Linked DNA regions of Homo sapiens: regions 2, 3 and 4 are each linked to region 1. Evidence: promoter capture Hi-C in human tissues and cell types (Jung and others, 2019). All regions are on one chromosome and are shown on one strand. Each heading gives the region's core, a stretch centred on a gene start or on the middle of the fragment in contact. The rest is flanking DNA. Distances are from core to core; before and after follow the strand shown.

Region 1 (3,673 bases), core at 430-2,929:
GACAAGAGCGCAAGTGCCGCTCCAGTTACTTGGCAGAGTATCCAGTAAAGGTCCACTACAATACCACCATACATCTGCTTGAGGATGACTAAGGGCAGACTGATGGGTAAGTTTTTGGAAGGGCTTAAGCTTATTGCATCTTGTTAAGCTTCTAAGGAACGCCAGATTCTCCCCTCGTCGTGAGAGACATGAGGTGAAATTGACGTCAGGAGAAGGAAGCTGAATGGCCTTTGGGGGCTGGCCTGCAGGTTGTTGGACTTCGGGATATAGCAGAGAGAGAGCTTGGCATGATTTGTTGCCCCAGGCTGTGGAATTTTGGAAAAGAGCTACCATACAGCCTATGCCTGGTCGGCTGAAGGGCTATCCTAGTGGAAAGGAAACAGTCTGGGCCTCTAGTCTGCCATGCATACAAGCGTAACAATTGCTTTTGTTCAATGTGCGGACGGAATATTGAATCCATTCCAACCAGGTATTTACATCTTGATATCCTGTTTTAATTGCTAGGGTTTGTCTTAAATCTTTTACTTCTACAATATTTACTTTAGTAGTATCATTAGGTAGAAAACAGGTGGCAGTCTGATTAGAAGAAAGCTTAGAAGGAGAAGAGAAGGAAGGGGGTGAAGAGAATGAAGGATTAATAAAACGCATTTCGAAAGATCTTATGAGGTCTGTGCTGGCCAAGTTGGCTCCTGTTCCATAGAAGTGACTTAAAGTAGGTTTAGGGTCAGTAGAGGTGGAAATTTGTATGGGATTACATTGATTATACTGGCAATTGGGGAGGTGCTTTTTTTAGTGAAATGAATGTATGGTTTTAAGGATATACAGCCACCTGCTGATGAGGTCTAGCCTTGACATTTGGTTGTCCATAGGACATCATTCTAGCTATGACAGACTTGTTTTCTTATATTTGTTAAGGAACAAGAGTCTTGGTAGGGGGGGCCTTTCACCTTAAAGGGGCAGAGATACTTTTCTGAGGCTGAGACTTGTCTTTGACTTTGGAGATCTTTACAGGGTATGACTAGACATAGCATTAAACGTGATAACTTGGGGTGAGTTTGATTGAGTTACATTAATGACAAGGTGGTCAGCATTGGAAGGGGAAAAGAAGAAAGAGTAATAGAATAGATGTAAGAGGTTAAATTTTTCTTAGCTTTAGTTTGAGGGGGTTTTCCCCTGGAATAATGGCCTACGACTTTGGGGGTGGCGGTGCTTTCTTGACTCGGGTGTGATGGGTCTATCCTTTCTCTGCTGTCCAGACTGCAGTTTCAATGGTGGGAAGTACTAGGCCAGCTCCTCAGGCCGGTGTTGACGCACTGGGAACTCCAGGAGCCGCACCTGTACTGGAAAATTGTGAGTTTTGAGGGAAGAGAAAGTGGAAGATAAACCAAGTATGTAGGAATGTTGGCAGTGGATTGCTTTGAGAGGTAGTTTGGATTAATAGGAAGACAGAAGACATTTGAGTTATGGCAACTAAGTTTCTAGACTTGTTTGGCTAAGGATGTACATTTTCATACACATATAAACTTTAACTGTGCTATACATAGCTTGAGGTCTTTAATGGGTCCTCTAATTTAGGTGGGATAGGACTTCTTTCATAAGAGGTTTAAATAACATTTGAATTCCCTTCAGTGCCTACAGGAGAAACGGCAGCTGGTTCGGATTATCTGATTTGCTAGGTTATTTTCTTAACTCTTGAAAGATAGGATTTTTGGTGCCTGGGGACGTGGAAAATAGCTTTTTTTTTTTTTCTGGTAACTGAAGGTTATTTAACACTTGGGTTATTAACTCTTCATGAACAAGGCTTTGACCTTTATTATTGTCTGAAATTTTCTAAATGTATGAGCCACGATAAAGGTGTATTTAGAATCAATATAGATTAGTATAGATGGTTCCTTTGCAGTTACTTTAAAGCTTGACTAAGTGCAAACAGCTTACAAATTTGGGTAAACTATTAAACAATTTTTAAATTTTATTTCTCTAGGAACTTCTCTATTTATTATTGAACATCTGTTGAATCCTTTTTCCTTTAATCATTTTTGAAGGGGGTTTCTCTTAAGTTTGGCCGGACATTTGTATGGTAATCAGTTAAATCTAAACATGTGTGCTTCCTTTTTAGATTTGGATCTTTCGTTAAGAAACTTGTTAGGTTAAGCAAATTACTAGTAACATTAAACTATCATTTTTAACAGAATAGCCTCATATTTATACACATGTAATTCTTTTTTGGTGGTACATTTTAACATAGGTGACTTTAAAGAATCAGAGTTCTTTTCTGGTGGATATTTTCACTTTTAACACTGGCCTGACTATAATAAATGCTAGTGGATATATCCGCTGAAAGATTATCTACTTCTTGCTCAGGAAACTTAGCTGCGGGGATGCCAGGCTGCTTGGAGCCATCGCTGAAGCCCCGTATTACTTAGCCTCAGCAAAGTAAGGCAGATATCCTATAATGTAGTTTGCATGGGGCATAGGCTGGGGCCTGGCTCGCATGTCATGCAGAGCTGCCGTCAATACAGTGCCAGGACCTTGGACCAGCCAGTGGGCAGGAGCATGGGCTTTGCCGCTGCAGGGGTGCACTATGGGCCAGACAACGCTGACAACATGTTGCGGCAGATCCTTCATGTTGCTAGCCTGGCAAAAGCCATCTGGTGAATTAGGAGCTTGGAGTTCTTTAGGGGAGAGGGACTTAGGCTGGGGAAGAACAGACTTACTGGGCGATGCCTGAGGGGAAGGGTTGGGTATTAGGTGGGGAATGGTCTAGGGGATCTTGCGAGTTGTTCTTTTTGCTAGGATCCCCCAAGCCCCTTCCTTCACTGTCTTTTTCATTAAAGATGGTTCTATCTTAATAGGGCACATGTACAACTCATTTTCCTCCAAATATTAGTTTTTGACTTGCTCCTTTCAATCCTTGGAGGAGGGGAAAGGACAACTCCTTGCAACTAACATAGGGCATAATTTGTTTCTTCTCAGGAGGCAGGTCTTCTACTAGCAACATTTTCTATTAGAAGTTCACAAATCCATCCCTCATTCGACTTAAATTCTGGCCAGAAAACTAAGGGTTCAAGGATTCGTTCTTGAGTCTAAATGGAACAGCAATATTTTATCACTAATTGCTTTTTCTTATGTTTAGTCTTTTCATTATCTTTCTAATGTTTTAACATGAGACCTAGGGGACTATTAGGGGGGATATCTTTGTTGCTAACTTTGTCTTTTTTGCTTGTAATATTTCCTATACTGGGTCCTGGCTAGGCTCAATCCCTCGTGATAGGAATCTCTTGCCTAGGGGGGCTTGCTGTGGCTCAACCCCTCATATTAAGGATCTCTTGCCTATTTTGGGGGTTCCTTGTGGCTCAGCCTCTCAAATTAAGGATCTCTTGCCTATTTGGGGGGTTCCTTGTGGCTCAACCCCTCATATTAGGAGGTCTTTTGCCTATCCCTCACTGGAAGTGTGGCTAAGGCTCAATTCCACTATCCTTTAGCTCCACCTGCTGGAGGTTCCTTGCACCCTTCTTTCGCTTCATCCACTCTGGCCGCTTCCCTCGCAGGTTTGTTTCAGGTTCCTCTTAGCATTGATGGCAGGTCCGTATAAACCTGTGACAGGACCCCCGCAGGGCTGCCCTAAGCCGTGTGAGGTGACCACAGAACCGCAGATTGGACTCACTCGCTCCGC
Region 2 (3,673 bases), core at 429-2,928, 730 kb before region 1:
TGGTAGCTTGTGCCTGTAATCCCAGCTACTTGGGAGGTTGAGGCAGGAGAATCGCTTGAACCCGAGAGGCAGAGGTTGCAGTGAGCTGAGATCGTGTCACTGCACTCCAGCCTGGCGAGAAAGCTAGACTCCGTCTCAAAAAAAAAAGTAAATAAATAATAAATAAATAAATAAATAAATAAATAAAGGAAGGAAGCAAGAAAATTTTAAGCCATTTAACAAGAAAACCCACTATTGCTTTCAGAAAATGAGAATGTTGGGCCGGTAATAGTAGCTCATGCCTGGAATCCTAGCACTTTGGGATGCTGAGGGTGGAGGATCGCTTGAGCCCAGGAGTTCAAGATCAGCCTGAGCAACACAGCCAGACCCCATCTGTTAAAAAAAAAAAAAAGAAAATAATAATGTCAGTTAATTATTTCCATGGCAATAAATAGTTTACAAAAGTATTACTTCTATCTGAATGCTTCTAGATGTTGCAAGTTTAAGTCCTGGAATACCATCTGAAACATCAAACTAAAAGAACAGACCTGAGAAACATATTCCATGTGCTCAGGGAAAGAACAAAGAATTTTTAACAAATGTAATATTGGGATGTTTTTTGTTTTCTGAGATTCATTTCTTTTTTGCCCTTTGGAAATATTTTGTACTGTCTCTCAAGTTCTTCTGATAACATATATTTTATATTTATTGGAAAAATGACATTCGAGTGAATAAATCTTTTCAAGGTCATAAACCCAAGGCGGGACAGTGCCAATCTGAAACTGTGCTGAAAAGATAGATTACCCAGGAAAGTTTACAAAAAGGAACCTCAACGCAAAGGAGTTCCCATAGGATGTCTGTGCCCTGGAAAGGTACCAGGATGAGGGCCACAGCATTTTATGCAGATTAGTTCCAAGTGAATAATTTTTCTGATTTTTCTCTGATGTAAAATATCCACAAACAAGAAATAAATCGTTTAAAAGAGGCATCTATTGGAAAAAAGATTATTAAAATACTGCGTGTGTTTGAAATGCACCACACAGGACAAAGAGTTGGTGACGATGTTTTCCACTGGCGAGCGGAAGTAGGCGTTTGGGAATTCGGGGAGGGATCCGGAAATCTAGGGATTAATGGCCCGCCGTGGGAGGAGCTAGGCTGGGGGGACAGGGTAGTGGATTTGAGACTCTGCTTCCAACATCTTTGGAAGACTCAGGGGGAAACAGCCTTTGGGAAGAAAGAAGGGACTGGGAACCCCAGACTGTAGCTCCTCCCACACAAACCAAACACACAAGGCGGGATTCTCCCCAGGACCCTCCCGTGGTCCCTGCACGATCTGGGAAAGACGCGGGGCTGCGGGCGCGGAGTTGTCCAGAGAGGGCTCCGGGGCTGGGACCGCAGTCGCCGCGCAGGGACGGGACAGGACGCTTGGAGTTCCAGCTGCCAGCCCAGCCCCACACTGCGGCCGGAGGTGACCGTGGGGAGGCCCGGGTCCCGCGATCACGGCCGGTTCCAACTAGTCCGGCCCTGCACACTCACCATTTTCCGGCCTCGCGGGTGTCCCGGTGTTGTCCCTAAGGTTCACGGAGCCAGCGCAGGGTACAGCGCATCCGATGCAGGGGTACAGCAACCTGACGCGTCAAGGGGCCAGGAGACCCCAAGCTAAGCACAACCCGATCGCACAGTGACGTAGCACGCATTTGCGCAGCGTAGCCGTACCCTCCTTTCCGGCGCCGCCCCTGATTGGACAATTATACAGCCCCGCCCCTTTTTGTCCGAATGACAGCTAGGCAGCAGGTCTAGTAGCTAGGCAGATCTCGCTTCCGCCGGTGGGACGGAACTGGTGCCCTCCGTGGACAATTGTGTTGAAGCAGAAATTGTTCCGGATCTCGGGTCGGACACGGAAGTCTTCCTGCAGTGTTTCTGGATGCGGGGACAGGGATGCGCAGGAATTCCAGTCTCAGTTTCCAGATGGAGCGACCCCTCGAGGAGCAAGTCCAGAGCAAGTGGTCGTCTAGTCAAGGCCGCACAGGAACAGGAGGGTCTGATGTCCTCCAGGTACCAGGGGCTTGGCATAATGTTGTAAGGCCTCTCGTGGAATAGTGACCCTTGTTTATAAACAGACGGTTACCCCATCATGTGTAATAAAAAGTGTGGTTGCATTTTAATCTTTGACCATAACAGCGTTGAGGCGTCCACCTTTCTTTTCCCCACCTCCACACATTTGGCACTTTAGAAAAGGAACCCCAAGGCAGGGCTTGGTGGCGCACACCCGTAGTCCCAGCTACTGCGTGGTGGGGGCGGTGGGGGAGGTCGGGGGGTGGGTGGGCTGAGGCGGGTGGATCGCTTGACTCCAGGAGTTTGAGTTCAGTCTGGGCAACATGGCCAGAACCCATCCCAAGAAAAAAAAAAAAAGGAAAGAAAGAAAAAACAATCCGTAGGACACCCGAGCACTTGGCTCGGGTGGTAAATTGCAACCCTAACCTGGGCACAGGGACTCTTCAGACCAATCACGATCTATGAGACGTGCTCAGTAAACTGCGTTTTACTCTGGAAGGAAATGGTTTGTTTTCGTTGTTTTTTTGTTTGTTTGTTTTTAGTTTAAGCATGTTTTTATTGCTTTTCATTTTTATTTTTATTTTTGTAGATTTATGGTTACAAATGCACTTGTGTTACGTGGATATATTTCATAGTGGCGAAGTCTGGCTTTTAGTGCACCCATCACCCAAAGAGTGTATATTGTACCCAATAGGTAATATTTCATCCCTCATCCCCCCTCTCTGTCCAACCTATTGGCATCTCCAGTGTCTATTATTCCATTCTGTATGTCCATGTTTACCCATTGTTTAGCTCCCACTTATATGTAAGAAGATGCAGTTTTTGACTTTCTGTTTTTGCATCATCGCACTTAGGATAATGGCCTCCAGTTCCATCCGTGTTGCTGTAAAGTGGAAGGAAATTTATCTCAAATAAGTTTTCTAAAGTGTCCCTACAGAACTTGGAAAGACCAAGAGCCCAAAACCAGCCTGGGCAACATAGCGAGACCCCATTTCTCAAAAAATTTTTAAAAATTAGCTGGGTATGGTGTTCACCTGTAGTCCTAGCTCCTTCGGAGGCTGAGGCAGAAGGATCTCAAGGCTAAGAGTTTGAGGTTACAGTGAGCCAAGATTGTGCCACTGCATTCCAGCCTGGGAGAGAGAGAGACTGTCTCTAAATTTTTTTTTTAAAGTAGAAACATATTTCATTTTTCCCATTATAGAGGAGACAGTGTAATCTTGAAAACTCCCATGATCCACCCTTCTGGTAGCTCTGTGTGTACAGGTAGATGCAGGGGGAACAATGCTTCCAAGGCTGTCAAAGGTCATGTTTAGTTCTAAATTGCTGAAACTCACAAAATGCATCCTCTTGTTTCTAATTAGATGCAGAACAGTGAACACCATGGACAAAGCATCAAGACTCAAACTGTAAGTGAGATCGCTACCTGTCAGCGTGGCTACCTTCCTTGTTTATAATGACCATTTGGGTCTGTCCTTCTATGACCTCTTTGTGGGGGGGTCTTTCGGGTCTTTGTGAAGGCACTCCCATAGTCAAGGCCAATAACCAGGCTCTCAGGTATGTCCTGTTCATTGCCCTCACCCTGTACTTCCATTGTCCCTTACCTTCATTGGCCATCCCAACACAGCCACCTGCATCCTTT
Region 3 (3,673 bases), core at 534-3,033, 560 kb before region 1:
CAAACTATTCCAAAAAACAGAGGAGAAGGCAATACTTCCAAATTTATTTTACAAAGCCAATATTACTTTGACACCAAAACCAGACAAAGACATGTCAGAAAAAGAAAACTATAGGCCAGTGTCACTGATGAATATTGATGCAAAAATCCTCAACTCAATACTAGCAAACTGAATTTAACAATACACCAAAAAGATCATTCATCATGACCAAGTGGGCTTTATCCCTGGGATGCAAGGATGGTTCAATATATGCAAATCAATCAATGTGATGTATCATTTCAACAGAATAAAGGGCAAACACCATATAATCATTTCAATGTGCACTGAAAAAGCTTTTGATAATATTTAACATCCCTTCATGATAAAAACCCTAAAAAAAAGTGGGTAAAGAAGGAGCATACCTTAACATAATAAAAGCTATATATGGCAGACCCACAGCTAGCATGATAATGAATGGGGAAAAACTGAAAGCCCTTCCTGTAAGATCTGGAACACAATAAGAATGCCCACTTTTACCACTGTTGTTCAACACAGTACTTGAAGTCCCAGCTAGAGCAATAAGACAAAAAAAAAAAAAAGAAAAAAAAAGAAATAAAGGGCATCCATATTGGGAAGGAAGAAGTCAAATTATCCTTGTTTGCATATAATATGATCTTATATCTGGAAATACCTAAAGACTCCACCAAAAAAGTATTAGAACTGAGAAATAAATTCAGTAAAGTTGCAGTATACAATATCAACACACAAAAATCAATAACATTTTTATATGCCAACAGTGAACAATCTGAAGCTACTTGAGAGGCTGAGGTGGGAGGATTGCTTGAGCTTAGGAGGTAGAGGTTGCAGTGAGCCATGATGGCCCCACTGCACTCCAGCCTAGGTAACAGAGCAAGACCCCATCTCAAACAACCAAAAATGTGTAGAAGGATGGTTACCAGAGGCTGCGAAAAGTAGTAGCGAGGAGTAGTTATGGGGGAAGTGGGGATGGTTAATAGGTATAAAAAATAGTTACAAAGAATGAATAAGACCTAGTATTTGCTAGCACAACAGAGTGACTATAGTAAAAAATAATTTAATTGTACATTGAAAAATCTTGAAAAATTTCATTGAAAAAGAGCATAATTGGAGCCAGGCGCAGTTGCTCACGCCTCTAATCCCAGAACTTTGGGAGGCCAAGGTAGGCGGATCACGAGGTCACGAGTTTGAGACCAGCCTGGCCAACATGGTGAAACCCAGCCTCTACTGAAAAATACAAAAATTAGCCGGGTGGTGGCGCGTGCCTGTAATCCTAGCTACTCGGGAGGCTGAGGCAGGAGAATTGCTTGAACCCACCCAGGAGGCGAAGGTTGCAGTGAGCCTCGCACCATTGCACTCTAGCCTGGGCGACAGAGCAAGACTCCCTCTCGAGGAAAAAAAAAAAAAAAGATATAATTAGTTTGTCAGTCCGTGTCCAGGAGGAAGAAGCAGGAGGTCCTATTGAGTACGGGCAGGAAATTCCGCTTAAGTGCAAATATAACCCGGGAGGATTCAGATCAAAGAGCAGGGAGGAAGCCCCCCCTGCCAAGGGCTGTGTCAGGAACTTGCTCATCCGGCTCCACTCAGCTGTGCAAGATCGCTTCTTCTGTCAATCAGCCCTCAGGGGGCGGGACCTGACGCCCTATCCAATCAGGGGCGTGGGGCGGGTTCGTGGGAACTGTCAATCAGGCACTGCCCAGAGAAGTGTGTGTGGTTGAAAAAGCCCGCGGCGTCTGCTCCACCCACCTGCGCTCGGCTCTGGGTTCTGTAGCTGAGAGACGACCTGGAAGTTCTGAGGCAGCCTTTGTCTGGCTGGAACACGCATTGGCAGCGGGAGCTGTCGGTAGGACCTGGGACACCGCGGAAGTCGGGAAATGGTGCGTGTGCTGGGCCGGCGTCCCGAGGCGGGGGAGGGGTTAGGTGGAACCGGCCGTAATCGGCTGTGGCTGGACCCGGGCCTCCCCAAGGGCGACTTCGGGATCTACGGACCCGGGTCCCCCTGGCGTAGGTCGGCCCTCGGCCGCAGGGTGGGGCTGGGCATGCAGCCGGGACCCCGGGCGTCCTGTCCCGTTCCTGCGCGGCGACTGCGGCCCCGGCGCCCTCTCTGGGCAGCTCCGAGCCCGCAGCCCCGGGTCTCCCCAGATTGTGCGGCTGTAACCAACACAGGTTCGCGGCCCGACTCACTGCACCGAGACGCCGAGGGCTGCAGCAGAAACGGTTTAACAGGAGGAGAGGGGAGGACACCCCAGATCCGCCTCCCTGAGGGATTTGGGGTCTGGACGGGGGCGGCTGGGTGTAGCGTCCTTGGTTGGTGGGGAAGTGAGGGGTGAATCCTGGGACAGGAGGTGAAGAAACCGCATTCTGCTGAGAGGGCTCCCTCGTGGGGTCTTCAACCTGGTTGGCGCCAGCCTTTCTGCTGGGATTCAGGATCTGAGAACTCCGGCGACTCTTGAGCAGCACTCGGAGATCTTATCCCCAGGCACAATGGGGAAGCCGGCGGTCAGCGTCTGCTGTGACCTGACTCTCAGGGAGGCGGCCCCTTGAGGCAGCGGGGCTGAGGGCACCTGTTTAATATCTAACTGCAATCTCGCCTCCAGCCTGGCTCGCAGTTCCTGTGAACCCGGTGAGGAGGCTGCACGGTGACGACGAGTCACCAGGTGGAATCCAGACTCGTGTGTGGGGTTTGTGTGTGGGAGGAGCTGTGGTTTCCGTGGTCCTCAGTCCTTTCTTCCTTTCCAAGGGCGACCGTTTCCCCTCTGAGTCTTCCAAAGACGTGGGCAGCAGGGTCTCAAATCCACCACTGTGTTCTCTCATCCTGACTCTTCCTAGGGCTGGCAGCAAATCTCTTGGTTTCCAGAGACTTCCCCAGGCTAACCTTCTGTCCTTAATTCACAGCAACAGTATGAACTGTTTGGCCCCAGGCGATATTTCACTAGTTTGTCATCTTGTTTTCAGCTAGCAATGTATGGCTTTTTCTTGAAAGAATTGTTTTGGGTTCCTGAACACGGTGGGTCATTCCTGTAATTCCAGCACCTTGGGAGGCTAAGGCAGAGGTATTGCTTGATCCCAGTAGTTCCAGACCAGCCTGGGCAACATGGCAAGACTTTGTCTCTAGTGTAAATGATAATAATAAAATTAGCTGGGCTTGGTAGCTGGCACCTGTAGTCGCAGCTACTCCTGAGGCTGAGGTGGGATGATGGCTGGAGCCCAGGAGTTTGAAGTTGCAGTGAGCTATGATCGTGCCTCTGCATCCCAGCCTAGGCAACAGAGGCCGACCCTGTCTCAAAAAAAATGGATGTCCACAGCTGCCAAGTCTCTTGGAGGGTCTAGTGAATATCATCCCCTGGGTCACTCCTCCCAGGGGACAGCCTGAGATGGAAGGTGTGGCCCCCTGGGGAGCAACTGGATCCACTGGGATGGGAGGAATCTTCTGGTATATAATTCCTGTAAAAAGCTAACTCCTGGGACACTCACCTTTTCTTCCCAACCCTAGTTTCCATTCCTTGGAGACACATGACTGAACAGCCAATTTCATGGTCATATTCCATAGGAAAAAAAACGGAAATGATTTTTGCCTTCTGGACTCTCTCAGACTTAAAAGGTAGAAAGTTATATCTAAGGACTGGAGAACCTGCCCTTTGAGGTAGTGCAAGATCCT
Region 4 (3,673 bases), core at 668-3,167, 520 kb before region 1:
TGATAAATTCCTAGGCAGATAGAACATAGCAACATTGAACCATGAAGAAATAAAAAACCTGAACAGACCAATAACAAATAATGAGATCAAAGCCATAATAAAAAGTCTGCTAGCAAAGAAAACCCCAGAACCCAGTGGCTTCACTGCTGAATTCTACTAACATTTAAAAAAGAACTAATACCAATCCTACTCAAACTATTCCAAAACAGAGGAGAAGGCAATACTTCCAAACTTATTTTACAAAGCCAATATTACTTTGACACCAAAACCAGACAAAGACATGTCAGAAAAAGAAAACTATAGGCCAGTGTCACTGATGAATATTGATGCAAAAATCCTCAACTCAATACTAGCAAACTGAATTTAACAATACACCAAAAAGATCATTCATCATGACCAAGTGGGCTTTATCCCTGGGATGCAAGGATGGTTCAATATATGCAAATCAATCAATGTGATGTATCATTTCAACAGAATAAAGGGCAAACACCATATAATCATTTCAATGTGCACTGAAAAAGCTTTTGATAATATTTAACATCCCTTCATGATAAAAACCCTAAAAAAAAACTGGGTATAGAAGCAGCTACCTTAACATAATAAAAGCCATATATGGCAGACCCACAGCTAGCATGATAATGAATGAGGAAAAACTGAAAGCCTTTCCTGTAAGATCTGGAACACAATAAGAATGCCCACTTTTACCACTGTTGTTCAGCACAGTACTCGAAGTCCCAGCTAGAGCAATAAGTCCAAAAAAAAAAAAAAAAAGAAATAAAGGGCATCTATATTGGGAAGGAAAGGAAGAAGTCAAATTATCCTGGTTTGCATATAATATGATCTTATATCTGGAAATACCTAAAGACTCCACCAAAAAAGTATTAGAACTGAGAAATAAATTCAGTAAAGTTGCAGGATACAATATTAACATACAAAAATCAGTAACATTTTTATATGCCAACAGTGAACAATCTGAAGCTACTTGAGAGGCTGAGGTGGGAGGATTGCTTGAGCTTGGGAGGTAGAGGTTGCAGTGAGCCATGATGGCCCCACTGCACTCCAGCCTAGGCAACAGAGCAAGACCCCATCTCAAACAACCAAAAACGTGTAGAAGGATGGTTACCACAGGCTGGGAAAAGTAGTAGCGAGGAGTAGTTATGGGGGAAGTGGGGATGGTTAATAGGTATAAAAAATAGTTACAAAGAATGAATAAGACCTAGTATTTGCTAGCACAACAGAGTGACTATAGTAAAAAATAATTTAATTGTACATTGAAATATTTTGAAAAATTTCATTGAAAAAGAGTATAATTGGAGCCAGGCGCGATGGCTCACGTCTCTAATCCCAGAACTTTGGGAGGCCAAGGTGGGCGGATCACGAGGTCAGGAGTTCGAGACCAGCCTGGCCAACATGGTGAAACCCGGCCTCTACTAAAACATACAAAAATTAGCCGGGTGTGGTGGCGCGCACCTGTAATCCCAGCTACTCGGGAGGCTGAGGCAGAATTGTTTGAACCCACCTAGGAGGCGGAGGTCGCAGTGAGCCTCGCACCATTGCACTCTAGCCTGAGCCACGGAGCAAGACTCCCTCTCTCTCTCTCTCTCTCTCTCTCTCTCTCGGAAAAAAAAAAAAAAAAAAAAAAAAAAGTATAATTGTTTTGTCAGTCAGTGTACAGGAGGAAGAAGCAGGAGGTCCTATTGAGTACAGGCAGGAAATTCCGCTTAAGTGCAAATATCCCTCGGGAGGATTCAGATCAAAGAGCAGGGAGGAAGCCCGCCCTGCCAAGGGCTGTGTCAGGAACTTGCTCATCTGGCTCCACTCAGCTGTGCAAGATCGCTTCTTCTGTCAATCAGTCCACGAGGGGCGGCACCTGACGCCGTATCCAGTAAGGGCCGTGGGGCGGGTTCGTGGGAACTGTCAATCAGGCGCGCTTCCCAGAGGAGTGTGTGGTTGAAAAAGCCCGCGGCGTCTTCTCCACCCACCTGCGCTGGGCGCTCGGTGCTCGGCTCTGTAGCTAAGAGACGACCTGGAAGTTCCGTGGCAGCCTGTGTCCCGCGGGAACCCGCATTGGCAGCGGGAGCCGTCCGGAGGACCTGGGACACCGCGGAAGTCGGGAAATGGTGCGTGTGCTGGGCCGGCGTCCCGAGGCGGGGGAGGGGCTGGGTGGAACCTGCAGTAATCGGCTGTGGCTGGACCCGGGCCTCCCCAAGGGCTACTCCGGGATCTACGGACCCGGGTTCCCCTGGCGTAGGTCGGCCCTCGGCCGCAGGGTGGGGCTGGGCATGCAGCCGGGACCCCGGGCGTCCTGTCCCGTTCCTGCGCGGCGACTGCGGCCCCGGCGCCCTCTCTGGGCAGCTCCGCGCCCGCAGCCTCGCGTCTCCCGAGATTGTGCGGCTGTAAGCAACACAGGTTCGCGGCCCGACTCACTGCACCGAGACGCTGAGGGCTGCAGCAGAAACAGTTTAATAGCCAGAGAGGGGAGGACACCCCAGATCCGCCTCCCTGAGGGATTTGGGGTCTGGACGGGGGCGGCTGGGTGTAGGGTCGTTGGTTGGTGGGGAAGTGAGGGGTGAATCCTGGGACAGGAGGTGAAGAAACCGCATTCTGCTGAATGGGCTCCCTCGTTGGGACTTCAACCTGATTGGCGCCAGCCTTTGCTGGGATTCAGGATCTGAGAACTCCGGCGACTCTTGAGCAGTTCTCAGAGATCTTATCCCCAGGCACAATGGGGAAGCCGGCGGTCAGCGTCTGCTGTGACCTGACTCTCAGGGAGGCGGCCCCTTGAGGCAGCGGGGCTGAGGGCACCTGGTTAATATCTAACTGCAATCTCGCCTCCAGCCTGGCTCGCAGTTCCTGTGAACCCGGTGAGGAGGCTGCACGGTGACGACGAGTCACCAGGTGGAATCCAGACTCGTGTGTGGGGTTTGTGTGTGGGAGGAGCTGTGGTCTCCGTGGTCCTCAGTCCCTTCTTTCTTTCCAAGGGCGACCGTTTCCCCTCTGAGTCTTCCAAAGATGTGGTTAGCAGGGTCTCAAATCCACCACTGTGTTCTCTCATCCTGACTCCTCCTAGGGCTGGCAGCAAATCTCTTGGTTTCCAGAGACTTCCCCAGGCTAACCTTCTGTCCTTAATTCACAGCAACGGTATGAACTGTTTGGCCCCCAGGCGATATTTCACTAGTTTGTCATCTTGTTTTCAGCTAGCAATGTATGGCTTTTTCTTGAAAGAATTATTTTGGGTTCCTGAACACGGTGGGTCATTCCTGTAATTCCAGCACCTTGGGAGGCTAAGGCAGAGGTATTGCTTAATCTTAGTAGTTCCAGACCAGCCTGGGCAACATGGCAAGACCTTGTCTCTAGTATAAATGATAATAATAAAATTAGCTGGGCTTGGTAGCTGGCACCTGTAGTCGCAGCTACTCCTGAGGCTGAGGTGGGATGATGGCTGGAGCCCAGGAGTTTGAAGTTGCAGTGAGCTATGATCGTGCCTCTGCATCCCAGCCTAGGCAACAGAGGCCGACCCTGTCTCAAAAAAAAAAAAAAAAAAGGGTGTCCACAGCTGCCAAGTCTCTTGGAGGGTCTAGTGAATATCATCCCCTGGGTCACTCCTCCCAGGGGACAGCCTGAGATGGGGGGTGTGGCCCCCTGGGGAGCAACTGGATCCACTGGGATGGGA

What was found. The method cuts DNA at HindIII sites, captures the fragments that hold promoters and counts their contacts. A contact is called where the count stands out against the background at its distance.
Region 2: the fragment with the promoter of ZNF791 here is called in contact with a fragment that was not itself captured in region 1 in 2 of the 25 tissues and cell types used here (dorsolateral prefrontal cortex and heart right ventricle).
Region 3: a contact is called between the fragment with the promoter of ZNF443 here and a fragment that was not itself captured in region 1, in 2 of the 25 tissues and cell types used here (IMR-90 fibroblasts and dorsolateral prefrontal cortex).
Region 4: a contact is called between the fragment with the promoter of ZNF799 here and a fragment that was not itself captured in region 1, in 5 of the 25 tissues and cell types used here (H1 embryonic stem cells, dorsolateral prefrontal cortex, liver and 2 more).

The regions. Positions count from the first base shown.
Region 1 is chr19:11,881,213-11,884,885 of GRCh38, reverse strand. No RefSeq gene overlaps it. Among named protein-coding and RNA genes, the nearest start is that of ZNF69, 4.7 kb to the left of the region's middle. RefSeq lists an enhancer at 3,386-3,565. The HindIII fragment of the contact is 6,745 bases long and covers 1-3,673 here.
Region 2 is chr19:12,608,925-12,612,597 of GRCh38, reverse strand. ZNF791 (zinc finger protein 791) reads right to left here and starts at 1,678. Exons shown (of 4, transcript NM_153358.3): 1 at 1,516-1,678. The coding sequence starts at 1,518. It overlaps ZNF490 (zinc finger protein 490), which reads left to right and starts at 1,785. Exons shown (of 5, transcript NM_020714.3): 1 at 1,785-2,034; 2 at 3,396-3,440. The coding sequence starts at 1,918. RefSeq lists enhancers at 1,507-1,566, 1,897-2,116 and a silencer at 1,707-1,766. The HindIII fragment of the contact is 50,335 bases long and covers 1-3,673 here.
Region 3 is chr19:12,439,131-12,442,803 of GRCh38, reverse strand. It overlaps ZNF443 (zinc finger protein 443), which reads left to right and starts at 1,783. Exons shown (of 4, transcript NM_005815.5): 1 at 1,783-1,892. The coding sequence starts at 1,890. RefSeq lists an enhancer at 1,335-1,604 and a silencer at 2,015-2,104. The HindIII fragment of the contact is 16,773 bases long and covers 1-3,673 here.
Region 4 is chr19:12,399,515-12,403,187 of GRCh38, reverse strand. It overlaps ZNF799 (zinc finger protein 799), which reads left to right and starts at 1,917. Exons shown (of 4, transcript NM_001080821.3): 1 at 1,917-2,120. The coding sequence starts at 2,118. RefSeq lists enhancers at 1,763-1,812, 2,533-2,622 and a silencer at 2,143-2,302. The HindIII fragment of the contact is 18,323 bases long and covers 1-3,673 here.